Linked DNA regions of Homo sapiens: region 2 is linked to region 1. The links are contacts of gene promoters, found by promoter capture Hi-C in blood cells and fetal thymus (Javierre and others, 2016). All regions are on one chromosome and are shown on one strand. Each heading gives the region's core, a stretch centred on a gene start or on the middle of the fragment in contact. The rest is flanking DNA. Distances are from core to core; before and after follow the strand shown. Region 1 holds the start of ITPRIP (inositol 1,4,5-trisphosphate receptor interacting protein). Region 2 overlaps STN1 (STN1 subunit of CST complex).

What was found. The method cuts DNA at HindIII sites, captures the fragments that hold promoters and counts their contacts. A CHiCAGO score of 5 or more calls a contact.
Region 2: a fragment that was not itself captured here is called in contact with the fragment with the promoter of ITPRIP in region 1 in 1 of 17 cell types (total B cells); the score reaches 5.9 in total B cells.

The regions. Positions count from the first base shown.
Region 1 is chr10:104,335,452-104,343,113 of GRCh38, reverse strand. It overlaps ITPRIP (inositol 1,4,5-trisphosphate receptor interacting protein), which reads left to right and starts at 4,649. Exons shown (of 2, transcript NM_001272013.2): 1 at 4,649-4,868. It also overlaps a transcript of CFAP58 not described here. RefSeq lists enhancers at 2,729-3,023, 5,772-5,971 and a cis regulatory region at 2,087-3,506. The HindIII fragment of the contact is 4,481 bases long and covers 1,827-6,307 here.
Region 2 is chr10:103,884,249-103,891,910 of GRCh38, reverse strand. STN1 (STN1 subunit of CST complex) reads left to right here. Exons shown (of 10, transcript NM_024928.5): 9 at 2,767-2,839. Among named protein-coding and RNA genes, the nearest start is that of STN1, 30 kb to the left of the region's middle. The HindIII fragment of the contact is 5,875 bases long and covers 825-6,699 here.

The DNA of each region.
Region 1 (7,662 bases), core at 3,400-5,899:
TGGGAAATTGACCAAATCAAGGGAAGTGCCCTTTTTTCCCCTCCATCAGATGCTTAATGACTAGTATAGGCTTCCTGTCTCTCCCATTGTCATGCATTTTATTCCATATACTGGAATAACCACAGATGGGGTGAACAGGAAATCTGTCCCTGTGTATTTAATCTTTAAAAAATTTCCAGTGCTCCTAACCGTGAGATGTGGTGTGAAGCTCCCCTGCAGTTGGTTCAGACTTTGTCACAAGTCACTTTTTTTTTTTTTTTTTTTTTTTTGATACAGGGTCTCACTCCCTCACCCAGGCTGGAATGCAGTGGCACGATCTCGGGTCGCTGCAACCTCCACCTCCCAGGTTCAAGTGATTCTCGTGCCTCAGCCTCCAGAGTAGCTGGAATTACAGGCACGCACCACCACACCTGGCTAATTTTTGTATTTTTTTTTTTTTTTTTTTTTGTATAGACGGGGCTTCGCCATATTGGCCAGGTTGGTCTAAAACTGAACTCATGTGATCTGCCCACCTTGGCCTCCCAAAGTGCTGGGATTACGGACAGGAGCCACAGCACCCAGCTGACAAGTCACCTTTCACTATGGAATGTGAAGCCTCATCTAGCACTTAAATGATCATGAAGAACATTCCATCTACTTTCACACACACATGTATACACATAAACAAGCCAATAGAAAACTGGGGGATGTTGTAACAGAGTCTTCACACATAAACACATAAAGGTGGCCAATAACAATGTTCTGTTCAGCCTCACTCATAATTTAAAAACTGCAAATCAAAACATTGAGATTAGGGGTTTTTTTCACCTATAAAAGAAGCAAACTAAATTAAAGTTATAATAGAAAATAGCCAATGTTGGCAACAATGTAGAGAAAAAGGCAATCATCATACTATGGGAAATAGTTCAAATTGGTGAGATCTCTTTGGAGGGCAATTTTGTAATATATACCAAAATAGTAAATGCACATATCCTTTGATCAGCCCTGAAACTATCAAGGCACTGACCCAAAATAGCCACCTATATACAAGCTTCTGATGTGAGAAAAACAAATCCTTATTTGTTTAAGCCTTTTATAGTCTTAGACACTATAAAAATTACAGTCTGGTATTCCGTTACTTGCAGCCAAACATATTCCTAATTTATAATTTTTAAAAAGAATAGGGGTGAAGGAGGACATTCATATCTTGCACTGACTTTAGAAGATTTCTAGTATTTCCCCATTAAGCATAACACTGGTTTGGGGGCTGAACTTTACCCTTTGTTTTTACCATGTTACAGAGGGTTTGTTTATATGTCGATGCCAAATTTTATCTGATGGCTTTTCAGCATATATGGTGATGATCTTTCCATTTTTCTCTTTTGATCTATTAATGATGTAATATTCTTTGGTGTGCTGCTGGAATTCTATTTGTTAATATATTATTTTAAATTTCTGAAATAATTTATATATTTATAAACAATAATATATTACTTTTCTTTCCCCTTTTCAATGAGCTATTTTTATTAGATTTTTGACTGATATATTACCAACTGCCTAAATAAAAAAGAATTTCAATCATTGAGGTTTTTTATATGTAAATGACTAAACTTTTTATTTCTACATATTATAGCTGTACTTTTTCAAATTTACCTGTTCTTTTTTCATAGTCCTATGTCCTATCATTTTATCTCTGTATTTTGACCATAACTATTTGATACTCTTTTTCAAATTGTTCTATTGTCTCAGATACTTAAGGGGCTAATTTTCCTGTTTATTACATTTACCAGTTCACACCCTCATGTGGTTCATTTCCTAGTCTGGTTTTTAATTTTTTATTATAAGCTTAATGATTATTAATAATTCTTAATTTTAAGAAATTAAAATAATATAAAGAATATTTTAATTTCTTATCATGAAACATTTTAATTTCTTATTGTAACTTCAATGGGAGTTGTTTATTCTGCTAGGGACCAGGATAAACAACCGAATTTTACGTTTGCTTCTGACAGGGCCAAGGGGATTCACCACTTTGAAACAGGTTTTTTGTGTTTTTTCTTGACATTAGGATTCCCTCAGCACGTGGGTAGTATAAATTGGGAGCTCACACCTATGCATAGTATAGGCAGGCTAGGGGTTTTCATTTCTATAGAAGACATTTTAAAATTCATCCAGGGCCGGGATAAACCACAAGTTTCCTTCCCGCGACCCTGAGCCAATGGGGAGAGGGCTTTTTTCTATCCTCCTCTTACTAAAGGGCAGCCTTTCCAGGGTTCCAGCCTTAGGCAGAGATCTCAAGTCCAGATCCCTGTCTTTATAGAACTCAAGGCCTGAATAGATACTAACCCCAATCCCTGAGTGGGTACTCACCCCTGGTCCTTAGTCATTTGGGCTTATATTCATGTCATGCTTTTGAGTTCCCTTGACCTATCTCACACCTGGAGACCCCCTTTCTTCCCTTCCGTTGTTGATATATTTTATTCAGCCTTTCACTGTTCGAAGCAGGAGTTCCCTGACTTCTTGACTCCTCAAGTTCCCATAACTTGAATCTTTGTACTTTCCTATCTTTTAAAAAACATTTCTCGAGTTAGCACAGTGTTCTGTAGAAACGACAGGAGGGGTGTCCAATCCAGACATGAGGGTTCCAGGAAGACTTCCTGAAGGAGTAACTGCCTGTTCTGAGACAGGAAGACTGAGCATACAATTAGTCGGGCAAAATAACATGCATGTGCACTGGGGTGACAGTTTGGAGGAGGAGGTGGGGTGGCTGTGGCAGGCAGAAAGTAGAGTACATATGAATATCCAAGGGGAGAGAAAAAGCATATCATGCAAACAGCATATCAAAGAGCATATCACGTTCTGGGAAGCACAGGTTCCAAGAACTGCAAGGAGTTTTGTGTGGGACACAGAGTGAGATATGAGGCTGGTGAGATAAGCAGAGGCCAGTTCATGAACGACTTACAAGCCAGGTAGAAGGGTGGACCTTAGAACAGACAGGAACCAATCAGAACACAGAAGGTGAAATCATCAGGTTAAAAGCAAAACAAATATAATAAATATTCCTTATATAAATATACATGGCTGGTTAGAAATTGCTGAAACAACTTTGCAGACGGGATGACAATCCCAGAGGGCATTCAAGCACTAACCTTGGCATTCCAGCACAACGCTGAACTCTTAGCCCAAGGATGACAAAGCTCAGCCCAGCGCTCTTACTTCACAGAAATTTCCCCCACCTGCTTTGCGGAGGGTGTGAGTAACCCACCGGACCAACTTCTAGACATTTTGGAAATACAGCTCTTTCAAGACCGTTTCCCCAGATCGCCCCCACCACCTCCAACACACATACTGGCCCCCAAAATTCTGCCATAACCTCTTACGTAAGGAAAGAATTTGAGCAGCAGTAGAAACTTGAAAACAAAAGTACCCTGGGCCAAGGGCCAGGGAGTCTATTTTTAGAACATTTTCTCATTGCCTGTTTATCTTTCAGACTCAGCCAAAAAGTCTTCCAGGCGAGTGTTAAAGGAAAAGACGAAAAAAAGGTGATCTAAGACCAAATAGCAGTAGCAATGGTGATCATTTTGGACACTGTGTTCCAATTTCCCCAATGTGCCTTCACTGGCATTTGGTGCCCCCAAAGCCGCTTAATGGAGAATTCATTCAAACCCTGCTCTGCCTTTTGTACTGATGGTAGGATTTGGGCAGGTCAAAGGGAAGACAATAGAAGTTATGGATTTCATAAACTATTAAGCTCGACCAGAACGCTGCTGCTGCTCCTCCAGGCCTCAGTTCTCTCGTTTCTAACATAGGGGTAGTAACACTTGATCTACCGTCACAACAGTAACCAGAAACTACCGCGCCTGTCCCGTACAGTATCCGGTCACTGTTCTCCTTTGTGCCCGGTTAATCCCGGAGAAAAGCAACCATGCATTTGATTATCATAAAAGTCGGGCGCGGTGGCTCACGCCTGTAATCCCAGGCGCTTCGGAAGGCCGAGAAGGGAGTTCGAGACCAGCCTGACCAACATGGAGAAACACCTTCTCTACTAAAAATACAAAATTAGCCGGGCGTGGTGGCACATGCCTGTAATCCCAGCTACTCGGGAGGCTGAGGCAGGAGAATCGCTCGAACCCGGGAGGCGGAGGTTGCGGTGAGCCGAGATAGCGCCACCATTGCACTCCAGCCTGGGCAACAAGAGCGAAACTCCTTCTCAAAAAAAAAAAAAAACGGTAGTAAGCTATTTTAATCCTTTCAAGCTGCAAAAGAGAAAAAGGCTGGCGTTTTGTCTAGAGTTATATTTTCCTCCAAGAGACTAAATAGGTGGCCCCAGGAATTCCGCCACTTGTAAAACGCGCCGCAGAAAACTCTCCCCGACTGGTAAGGACTTAACCCCTTCCGCTCCGCGGCTTAGGACGACTTTTAAGGGCGTCCTCCCCGCGCCCCTGTCCACTCGCTCCAGTTTACTCCACTGGCCTGATTCCGTCTCTCCCAGTCACTCTCCAGTTCTGCCGTGCCGGGGAAGTTTCTGGGGGCTCACTGGGAAGGTCTTCCCGGCGGATCCTGGGCCCAACCACCGAAACCCACACGGTCCTCCTTAAGGAGCTTCCGGGGCCGCGGGTAGAGGCGGGTGTTTTGTTCTTATAAGGAGGAAAAAGTTTTTGTGACATCCAGGAAATGAGTAACTCTGAAGTTCAGTAGAGCCGGCCGCTGCAGGCCAGAAGGTGGGAGCCAGCGGGGGCATCGCCGCCCGCGCCCCTCTAAGTGCCGGGCCGCAAGCTCCACCGCAGCCGCCTGCAAGCAGCGGCGCCTCGGCCCTCGACCTGCGCGCAAAGCCTGTGCTGGAGCCGTCCTCCCGCGGCGGGGACCGGGACCGGGGACCCAAGCCAATCGTAAGTCCCAGGGCAGCCTAGTGTGCTGAAGGAAGAAGGGCGCGATGGAGAGCGCGAGCTCGGAGGAGCTGTGTCGGAGATGGCTGCCGACAGAGGGGGCGCAGGAGGGTGTGGGGAGCGCGGGCGCCTGCTCCTCCCGGGTGGGGGCTGACTTTGGAGACCCCCTTCCCTTAAAGCGCGCGTGCCCAGGCGGGCGTATTGTCTCCTCGCGGTCCCGCATCCTGTTCCCGCCGCGTCGGGGGATGCGTCCCGGGCGCTCGCTCCAGCCAGGGCTGCGGGCAGCTCCTCCTCGAGGCGCGCGCAGCCTCGGAGCCCAGAGCGGGACCACATTTTTGTTCCTAGTGGCCAGGTGACCCGTTACTTCTCACATCTGAGCAGAGCGCTACCGAAGAAAGAAAAGCCGGTTCGCCCTGCTCATTTGCTGCCCCCTTTTCCCCTTCCCCTTCCCTCCCTTCCTGTAAGGGAGGAATAGGCGTGAAGTTTTTTTTTCTCGGTTCATGGTAGTGAAGTTATGGGGCTGCTTCAGGCCGGATAAAATCCCCGCCGCTTCCTCTTTCGGGACTATTAGTGGGCCAGACCTCACGCTGTGCAGACTTGCTCTTGGGCTGCAAATAACTCTCTGCCCCTTCACCCCTAACCCCACCCTCAACCCCATCCCTGTGACTTTGCCATTCTGGCCGCCTGGTGAAGACTCCCGGGGCGGGACTCCCCATCCAAAACGCTTTCTCTTAAAAAAAGAAAAAGAAAAAGAAAAAAAAAGCCACCGACCAGGAAGGTAAAATATTTTACGGAACCAGGCAGGGGCCTCATTTTGCCTTTTGCCCCTCTGCTGGTATGAGAAAAGCACCCTTTCACAACTAGTAGAGTACCAGATACTGGTCTCATTTCACAAACAGTAGAGTACCAGATATTGGTCGCAATCTGGACTCTGGTCTTTTGGATCTAAATCGGGGTCGCGGTCTATTTTCTTGTTCTTTTTTTGGATATGACCCAGTGCTCTTGCCTTTTACAAACCGAGTCTATCTGACTGCCAGCTAAAGTTCATCTGTGGTTGGTGCAGTTTTAGGCCCAGGTGAGCCCTGAAAATAGAGTATCAGAAAAGTGGATTACTGTCTTTCCTCCTTACGAAAACAGAATAGGCTGTGTTTTTGAGTCCTCCCTCCAGCCCTCGTGCCTAAGTGGCTTTCATTGTTTGCTAATTCCCTGTATGTTGCGGCTGCTCTGGGCCATTCTGCCTTCGGATTTTCTCCACTTGTGGGTAACCATGAAGTAGTTATACTGACTCTCTGCTCTCCCTGGGTGCATTCTTCTCATGCTCAGTAAATCTACATTTTACGTAAGATAAAGTAAGCATGTGAAATTATAGCTATCTGTTTGGCAACAAAAGGAATGCAGTTTTGTTTTCGGTTTTGTTTTTTGCATGACTGAGTTCCCAAGCTTAACTTTTCCCTTTGGCATCCTGAGCTTGGGGTCCTAAGGTTGTATTTTCCTTTCACAGCTATCAGCAGAGACAGGTAGCCATCAACAGTTAGGAAAGAGTCTGGGCTGGGTGGCTGCCTGTCTTCCCAGAGCTTTGGGAGGCTGAGGTGGGAGGATTGCTTGAACCCAGGAGTTCCAGGCTTAGAGCTGGGATCACTTGGTTGGGATCACTTGGTTGGAGCTAGGATCGTGCCACTGCACTCCATCCGGGTGACAGAGTTCAGACCCTGTCTTTAACCTACCCCCCAATGCCCCGCTGCCCCCCCCCCCCCAAAAAAAAATAACTGGGCAGGAGAAGGTGCTTTCAGAGTCCAAGACTCAGGTTCCATGTTTCGAGTTGAGAGTCTGCCCCAGTAGGGTTGAGGTGGCACGGCAGCCTGTGGGGCTTTAATGGAGAATCTGCTTGGAAGGGGTGGGTGCTCCAAGTGTTCTGGGAGCTGAGAAGCAGGACTTTATTATGGATGACACCAGGCCATCCTGGACCCTTCTCTCATCCAGTCTTGCTGGGGAGGGGTACAGAGCCAGGAGGATGCTGAGAACTGTTCATGATAACCTCCAGGGCTGCTGCTAGCCTATTCAGTCCTTCGCATGAATTAGAATAAGGTGCTCTGTCTTGGCAAGAGGATGGGGCTTGATGCCTCTTAGAAATACTGGCCTTACTTGAGTGGACATAGCCAAGCCATATAGCTGGATAAGTGGCATGTGAGCTGGATTTATCCTCACCCCTCAGCCAGGTGCCTTAAGCAGTACACTGCCTGGTCCACCATTCACACAGCAGCCCTGATAAACAACCACTATTGAGGGCTTAACATTCGCCAGGCTTTTTTTTTTTTTCCCCAAAAGTACTTAGCCTGTATTAACTCATTTAATCCTCACAGTAGCCGTATGAGTTAGGTATTGTTAACTCCATTTTACAGATGAGGAAACTGAGGCACAGGGATGTTAAGTGTTCCAGAGCCTGGAAGGTGAGTCTTAATCACTGGGCATTCATAGACCAAGAAGCAACTTAAGCTTAAAAAGCTAGTTTAATTGGGAACCCTCGTGGGAAAGGGGGAAGAACAGTTGCCTTTTTCTTTCTCTGTCAAAGGAGGAAATACCCATTCTCAGTCCAGGTGGAGGAAGGAGGGGAAATTCATCTGGCAGGAGGCAGAGGAGGAAAGAAAAGAGGCAAGCCGGGCCTTGATGGCTGATGGGGAGCCTGGCCCAAGAATCAAGTGACTTTCCTTAATCTCTGGGCGGTGTGAGGTGGCAGATCCAGTTTGGGGCCTGGCATGAGGGTGATGAGTAAGTGCCCCCAGGTGTGGCTCAGAGGGAA
Region 2 (7,662 bases), core at 2,513-5,012, 450 kb after region 1:
GACTTTTTCAACCAAATGCAGATGGAAAGTACAGTATTTGCAGATGTGAAACCCACATATGAGGGCTAACTTTTTGTACATGCAGGTTTCACAGAGCCAACTTCAGGACTTGAGTGTGTGTGGATTTTGGTATACCTGAGGGTCCTGGAACTGATCCACTGAGTATACCGAGAGATAACTGTATATCCTTCTAGACATTTATCTGTACATTTACAGATGCATACATATACAAATGTGCTCCTGTGGCTTTTTCATTGTTTCCAATCCCTGACTTATGCAAGAACCTTTTTGCTTTATAAAAAATGTGATCATCTTCTAAATTGACACTTCTCAATCTGAACACTATTTGGGGTAGGTGATCGATTGCCATGGGAACTATCCTGTGCATTGCAGGATATTTAGCAGCATGCCTGACCTTCACCTACTAGAGACCAGGAGCAACACCCCAACTGTGGCAACCAAAAATGTCCCTGGACATTGCCGGGTATCTCCTGGGACCATTGAGACTTGCTACTCTAAATAATGCTCTGTACCTTTTTTGGTACCAAGATAACACATGACAGGCACCTTTCCACATTAGTAGTTATAAATCTACCTCGTTCTTTTTAACATCCTCAGGGTATTCCATACTATGGGTACCTGTTGTGTATTTTTTAGACATTCCTTTTTGATGGGTACTTAGGGTATTTCTAACTTTTGCTGTCACAAATGGTGTTGCTGTGGCTATTTTTGCACAACTATATTTGTGAACTCATGTCAGTATTTCTGTAAGATTGACTCTTAAAAGAAGAGCTGCTGGAGCAGAGGGCATGGCCATTTAAGCTTTTGGTCAACACAGTGTGATGGGCCTGCCTGAAGGCTGTACCAGTTGACTCCCAGCAGAAGTGTAGGTGCTTGTTTGCCTCACTCTTTCAAGTTAAAAGTTCACCTTTTGCTGCATACCTTTAATATTGGGAGGAGCTAAGGTGGAAATGGGCCTTCTCAGGACCACTGACATCAGTGGGTGTGGACTCCGTTATGTGCAGCTCTCCCAGAGACTGATCAAATTCTGTGGTATTCCAGAAGTCTCACTATTCACAGGCAAGATTCCTGACGGGGAGCTTTTCTTAATATGACATTTCCTGATGTTGATTTACCCTAGTGACTCCCCTCTTTAGAGAGATTTTAGAAATTACAATACCATTTAAATAACTTTTGAAGCAGGTATCCCAGTCTACATAAGGGCGAGTGCCTCCCACACCGTCCCAGGATGGGAGTCCTGGCATGGGAAGGCCGGGTGGGAGTTGGTTGCTTCCTGGAAGTTGGAGAAGCTATGGGGGCAGCTCACCTTGAGCCCTGCTCTGGGACACACCTTTCCTCCCAGGCCTTTAGAGAGCAGCCCTTCCTGAGGAGCAGCAGTCCAGGGCAAGGCGTGGTGGGGCTGGGTACTTCCTCCTGTGAATCATTGTGATCAAGCACAAATAGATCTCTTGTCGCCATCTCTGACTTCATCTCTCCACTGCTTTGTAGTCACCTTTCTCCTGAAGCCCTGCCTCAGGGAAATGGTTAAAATAAGTCAACACTTCTGTTTGCCTAGTGCTTTCCTAGGTTCAGCAGCTCTCACACATGACCTTGTTTAATCTTCGTCATAACCTTGTGAGCTGAGAGAAGGCAGGTGTTCTCAAGATGCCCCCTCCAGTAAGGCAGGTCAGACAGGCATTCTTGGGCTGTCTTTAAGGAGGAAACTTACAGCTATTTGTTTGCATGCCTATTTTCTTTCTTCCTTTCTTCCTCTCTCTTTTTCTGTTTCTTTTTTTTCTTTCTCTTTCTCTCTTTTTTTGTTACTAGATTCACTGTGGAACATGAAGGTGAAACCTGTTGTGTGCTGCTTCCCTCTTAATCTGAGCTGGTTAAAAAAGACTAAGTTGGCCAGGTGCGGTGGCTCACGCCTATAATCCCAGCACTTTGGGAGGCCAAGTCGGGTGGAATCACTTGAGGTCAGGCATTCGAGACCAGCCTGGTCAACATGGTGAAACCCTCATCTCTACTAAAAATACAAAAATTAGCTGGACGTGGTGGTGCACGCTTGTAATCCCAGCTACTCGGGAGGCTGAGGCGGGAGAATCACTTGAACCTGGGAGGCGGAGGTTGCAGTGAGCTAAGATCGTGCCACTGCACTCCAGCCTGGGCGATAAGAGTGAGATTCCGTCTCAAAAAAAAAAAAAAAAAAAAAAAAGGAAAAAGAAAAAGACTAAGTTATGTCTACCTTTGAGAGCAGAATGTGTTTCAGTGGATAGGCTAGCTTTACTCTCATGCTAGCCTGTCCTTGCAGGGTTTTTTTTTTTTTTTTCTCCTTTTATTTTTCCTTGTGGTTGGGAGAAGCAAGAAAACTGATGCAACACAAGACAGGTGTCAGGGCCCAGAAGAAGGAGTCATGGGGTGGAGATTGGAGGCCTTGATCACTGTGCCTCGCTCAAAACTATAACAACAAATAACAAAAATGTGTTATGAGTGTTGAAGAAGAAAGTTGTCCCTTAAAAGTATGCAATTCCAGCTTTTTTTTTGTTTTAACCTCATTGCCCCAATGAACCAACTCCCAAGGACGTGTCCTCTGGGCAGAACTGGTTTGACACTAGGCCAAGTATCAAACACCACATTAATGGTGTAGGGAAGATGATTATTATGTAATCTTTAGAAACTATCCTGAATACTAATTTGGAAGTCTGGATGACACAACTGCTGTGTTACCTAAGAACACTCTCTCTCTCAACTATTTTTCCTATTTAGGTAACCAGAGAAGACAAAGACCTGCACAGAAAGATCCACCGGATCATTCAGCAGGACTGCCAGAAACCAAATCGTAAGTGGTATAATGTACAAGTGATGCCCTGGTGCCCTGGAAGGGGATACTGTCTCCCGGGGAGCACTGGATGGAGAGTCAGGAGACCCGGGACTTTTCCCAGTAGTGACTTGGAAAGGTGATAGTCAAAGTACCTGCCCTCCCTGAGCCTCCATCTCCTCTCTAAAGGAGTGTTGGGCTAGCACAGTTGTTGTGATCTTGGCTGTACATAAGATTCAACCTTGGAGCCCTCTGAACATTCAGAGCCCAGATTCTACCCTGGGGATTTTGTTTCCATAGAGGATGAGGTGGGGGCTAGACAAGGAATTCTGATACAGTGAGGTCACCACACTAGGACGTTTTGATGTCATTCTGCTTCTCATGTTCTCTCTGATTTGTGTTATTTCCTATTTCATGCTTGCCCCCCTTCTTTGAACACAAACCTGACATTTCCCTCTATTCTAACATCAAAGCCTTTCAGTGTTGGAAGGGATGGTTCTAGACATGACTGTTTATGAACGGTGTAATTCAGTCATCTTGGAAACTGTTAATTTGCAAAAGACATGGTTTAGAAAATAGTTTTGGTAGAGTTAGTTCAGCCCCTAGTGGTTAGACACTGAAACTGTAGCTACTCTGACAAGGAACAATACCATTTCCACACTAGTTAGAGAAGGAAGCATTAGTCTATCTTTAAATCCTATGTAAACTGACCGGTCTTAAAGGCGACTTTTCAAAGTCTAGCTTTTGCAAACACATACTATAATAAGAAGTGTTGGAAAAGTTTGTTAATGACCCCAGGTCCCTGATCTGCCAGTGAACTCCACCTCCAGTCCTTCGGCCCATACATCCCTGGGGCCTGGACCTGTGCCAGGTTGAGTCAGTGGGTGAAGCTGGGCCAGGTTTCCAGCACTGGTGTTTATGGTAGACAGCCCTAGTTAGCCTTTAAGAAACCATGAGGTCGGATCCCAGAGTGGTGTGACAGCAGCTCTTAAAATAAACTCAAAGCAATATATTATTTCAGTGCAAGTGAATGGACTTTGTTCACTTCATTCAGAACAATAAAAGCAAATATCCTTTAGTTGAGGGAAAAGCCCATCTGTCCACAATTGAAGGAGCTTTTGAGAGCAGTGCAATGTGGGATTCCTCAGCCAAGAAGGGATGAGAAGATGCTCCCAAGATAACATCTCTGCAGTCACCCTATTCGCAGGCCTCCTGGCCAGGTTCTTATTTTCATCTGCATTAGGAATAGAATGGATTGAACCCTAGGGCTAGTAAAGCACATGAAAAGAATTCACATTTCATTTGGACTTGGCTCTCTGAAGTGTCCTGAAAGTAGCAGGTTTAACATCTACATCTACCCACAGCTCATCAAGTGGACAGGCCCTGCCACTCAGTCTGTGAATGGGAGCCTCTAAAAGCCACTAGCCAATCACCTGGCACTACTACACTCCCAGGAGCTGAATTCTGAAGCCTGAGCTACTGAGAATGCTGATAAAAGATGTTATAAGGACTGTGTTGGAACCTGCTGTGACCACCCCGCTTCATAATGTTATAACATAGCAATTCAGAATAGTAACGTATGCCCCTCATGAAAAGCCAAGCAGTGCAAAAATCCACTCCAAAAAGCCAGACTCCCTCCCAGCACTGAGCCCCAGCTTCTGTGTTCCCCTCTCCAAAGGCAGTGGTTGTTATTAGTTACTTGCATATCCTGTTGGATATGTGTTTTCTATCAGGGATAAACTATACAGATATGCACTTACAAACATATCATATTATTTATCCTTGACAGAAAACACAAGTGAAGTTTAGCCGACGATATACATTGTCCTACACCTTGTATTTTAGATCTAACATTGCCTTCTAGAGGTCAACAGTACACATGAAAGTGCCTACGTCTTTTCATTAGCTGGACAGCATGCTGTTACATGTATAGGTAAATATCCGACCCTCAGTCTAACCATACCTACTGGGCCTTTAGTTCCTTTCTAGCCTTTCAAACAGAATATAGCCTGGAGTTTTTCCTTGTCAGGATGATTGGTAGAAGGACTTGAAGTCATTTATGAGTGTCTCACAAAGGCTAACCCTTCAATAATGAAAGGACTATGAACATCAAGCCTGTCTTAGGTCCCTGAAGGATTGATACTTGTTCTCTGAAGATGGGCAATGTGGCGGCATTGTGAGGAGCTGTGCTCTGGAGCCACCTTGCCTAGGTTTGAATCCCGGCTTTGCCACTTGCTAGCTGTGTAATGTTGGGCAAGTGCCTTGGGTTCTTTAAATGCAAAGTGGGGATAATAATAGTACCTACAAGATGGGTTTTTATAAGAAGTAAATGAATTGGCATTTAGAAAGTTAGAAGAGTACTCAGTGCATAATTATGATCCAAAAAGTATTAAATAAAAATGAAGTTCTCTTTCCTAATGGCACAAGTGGTAACCCCTAATTCTCTAGCCTGCAGGCCTGAAGGCTCACCCTCTACTTGGTTTAATATTGATCTGGAAGGAGGCAGTTTCAGATAGAATCTGTATGTGGATTTTGCTGTATTATTGTTGGAGTAAAGTTGACAAAATCTGGATTTTGGCTTTCAGTATGGGTACAACAATGGCAAATTATCCAAAAGAGCTCTATGTTGAACATGTCTTTTTATCTCTAACTTTTTACTCTGAAAATATTCCAATTTATCAAAAAAAAAAAAATTAAAAGACTGGTACAATAAACACCGATATACCCTTCACCTAGATTGACTAAAAACTTCAGTTTGTATTTGCTAAGCATGCAGAAATTCTCCTATTTGATCACCAAATCATTTCACACCGAAGAAAATTAACATTTGATGAGTTCCAAAATGGCAGCCTTTCACTAAATGTTACTTTATACCATTAGCTTTTCAAAAATCTCCCATGTATTTAGCTCAGGTTCATTTTTTACTATCCCAGAGCTGGAGAGAACTGCTGCTTTTGGTAGAAACTGAGTACCATATAACACTACTTATACTGGAGGATTTTTTTTTTAAACTTAAGACAAACTTTTAAAAAAGACTTAAAGAAGTTTAACCTTTTGTAGTTATAGTAGTAGGTTATATCTGAAATGTATCTTTATGTCATTTGGGTCTCTAGAACATTAGCCTTTGTGGTTTCTGGTGGAGGTATGATGGGGTATAGTATGAATCAGGCTACATGTGAAAGTTCTTGGGAAAATATAAGGCGCAGTTATCACCGCTCATAGTGATCCGTCATAAGATAACTATGTCTGCCAGGCAAACACTTTTCAGAAAAGTCTGCTTCGGCTTGTGGGTTTGTTCCAGAAGAGTCGAATTATGTAATTGTACTAACCCCTGGGGAGCTCCTTGCTGGCCTTTCCTACTTTTACTGTTTTATAATAATTTCTCACTTAGAGAAGAATCTAAGGCCAGGCACAGTGGCTCACTCCCATAATCCCAATGCTTGGGAGGATTGCTTAGGCCAGGAGTTCGAGACCAGCCTGGGCAACATAGCAAGACCCTGTCTCTACAAAAAATAAAAATTAAAAATAGAGAGGAGTCTAAGTTCACATTACCGAAGTGACTGGAGATCACTTTTGAACAGCCTCACCAGATAACCCTCAGCAGAACAGCCTTTCTGACTAAATAGTTGAAGGCCTCTGAGACAGTCAGCATCACTGCTTTGGGCCCCATGGATGCCTGTAAGTCACCTTGAGCCCTGGGTCCAAGCATCCAGGCCTTGCAGAAACTAAAAGCTGAGCAGCACTAAATTCCCTCTGCTCCTCCCTACCGTGTGCAGGTCTGTGTGGTTGGAGCCCCTCACCCTCCATCATCAAACCTATCCTTGCTTGCTGGTCAGCTCTTCCTCCTTGAGAGGCTTTTCTTCTTGGGAAGGGATGAAGCTTTTCTAGAGCAGGAACTAAGTTACATTCATCTTCTTGGATTACGGATATGATGAACCAAATCATAGTAGTTCCCCCTGGTCTCTCATCCACACAGCCACCCTGAGAAGGAAGTGGTTTTGTTCCCGGGAGTGACTTTGTCCCAGTTGTAGAGCCAGGGCTTGAATTCTGGTGTGGTGGACTCCAGTGGCAGCTCCAGGTCTGCCAAGCTCTACTTGCTCCTCCTTGCTCAGCAATGCACACATAGTAGGTGTTCAGGAAGTCTATGGAGTGAATGTTGAAGAAACAGCCTGGAAGTATAGATGCCAGCAATCCCAGTTGGAAGGAGTAATGAGTGGACACAGCCACTAGAGGTCAGAATTTAGCAAATTTTTGTTAGCCCAGGAGCAGTCTCTGAACCTTAGGGTTGGAAAGGGCCTTGGAAGTGGTTTTCACCACAGCTGAGAACACTCAGGCCTAGGGATGGCTTGCCCAAAGCTACAGAAGTGCACCAAACCTTGAACCGTGCTTTGCCTCACACCGCAATACCTCTTCGAGCACCTTCCTGAAGCCTAAAGCATTTTTCATCTGTAAACAACTTTCAGTGACTTTGTGGAGCACCTTTTGTGTGCCAGATACTGGGTATACGGCAGAGAGAGACCATGCCTGCGCCTGCCATGGAGTTTTAAACTGTGACAACTGGAGAGGGTTTGCTTTTGGTAAAGAAGTTTGACTTTGACTCAAAGTTAGAAATACATTTTACATCATGACCCAATAAATTATATAATTCTAATGCATAAGATGTATATGAAATTAAGTTTCATGAATTAATATGTATCCAAATTACAATGCAAGATATTCTGTAACGTTCTATTTCTGCTCTCTTTGAGTTTGGTAAGAAAAAGTTGCTGATCGCAACCTACAAAAATTGGTTTCGTTATCCCCTAATAGGCACAACCCCCAGTTTGACTACTGCCGACGACCTA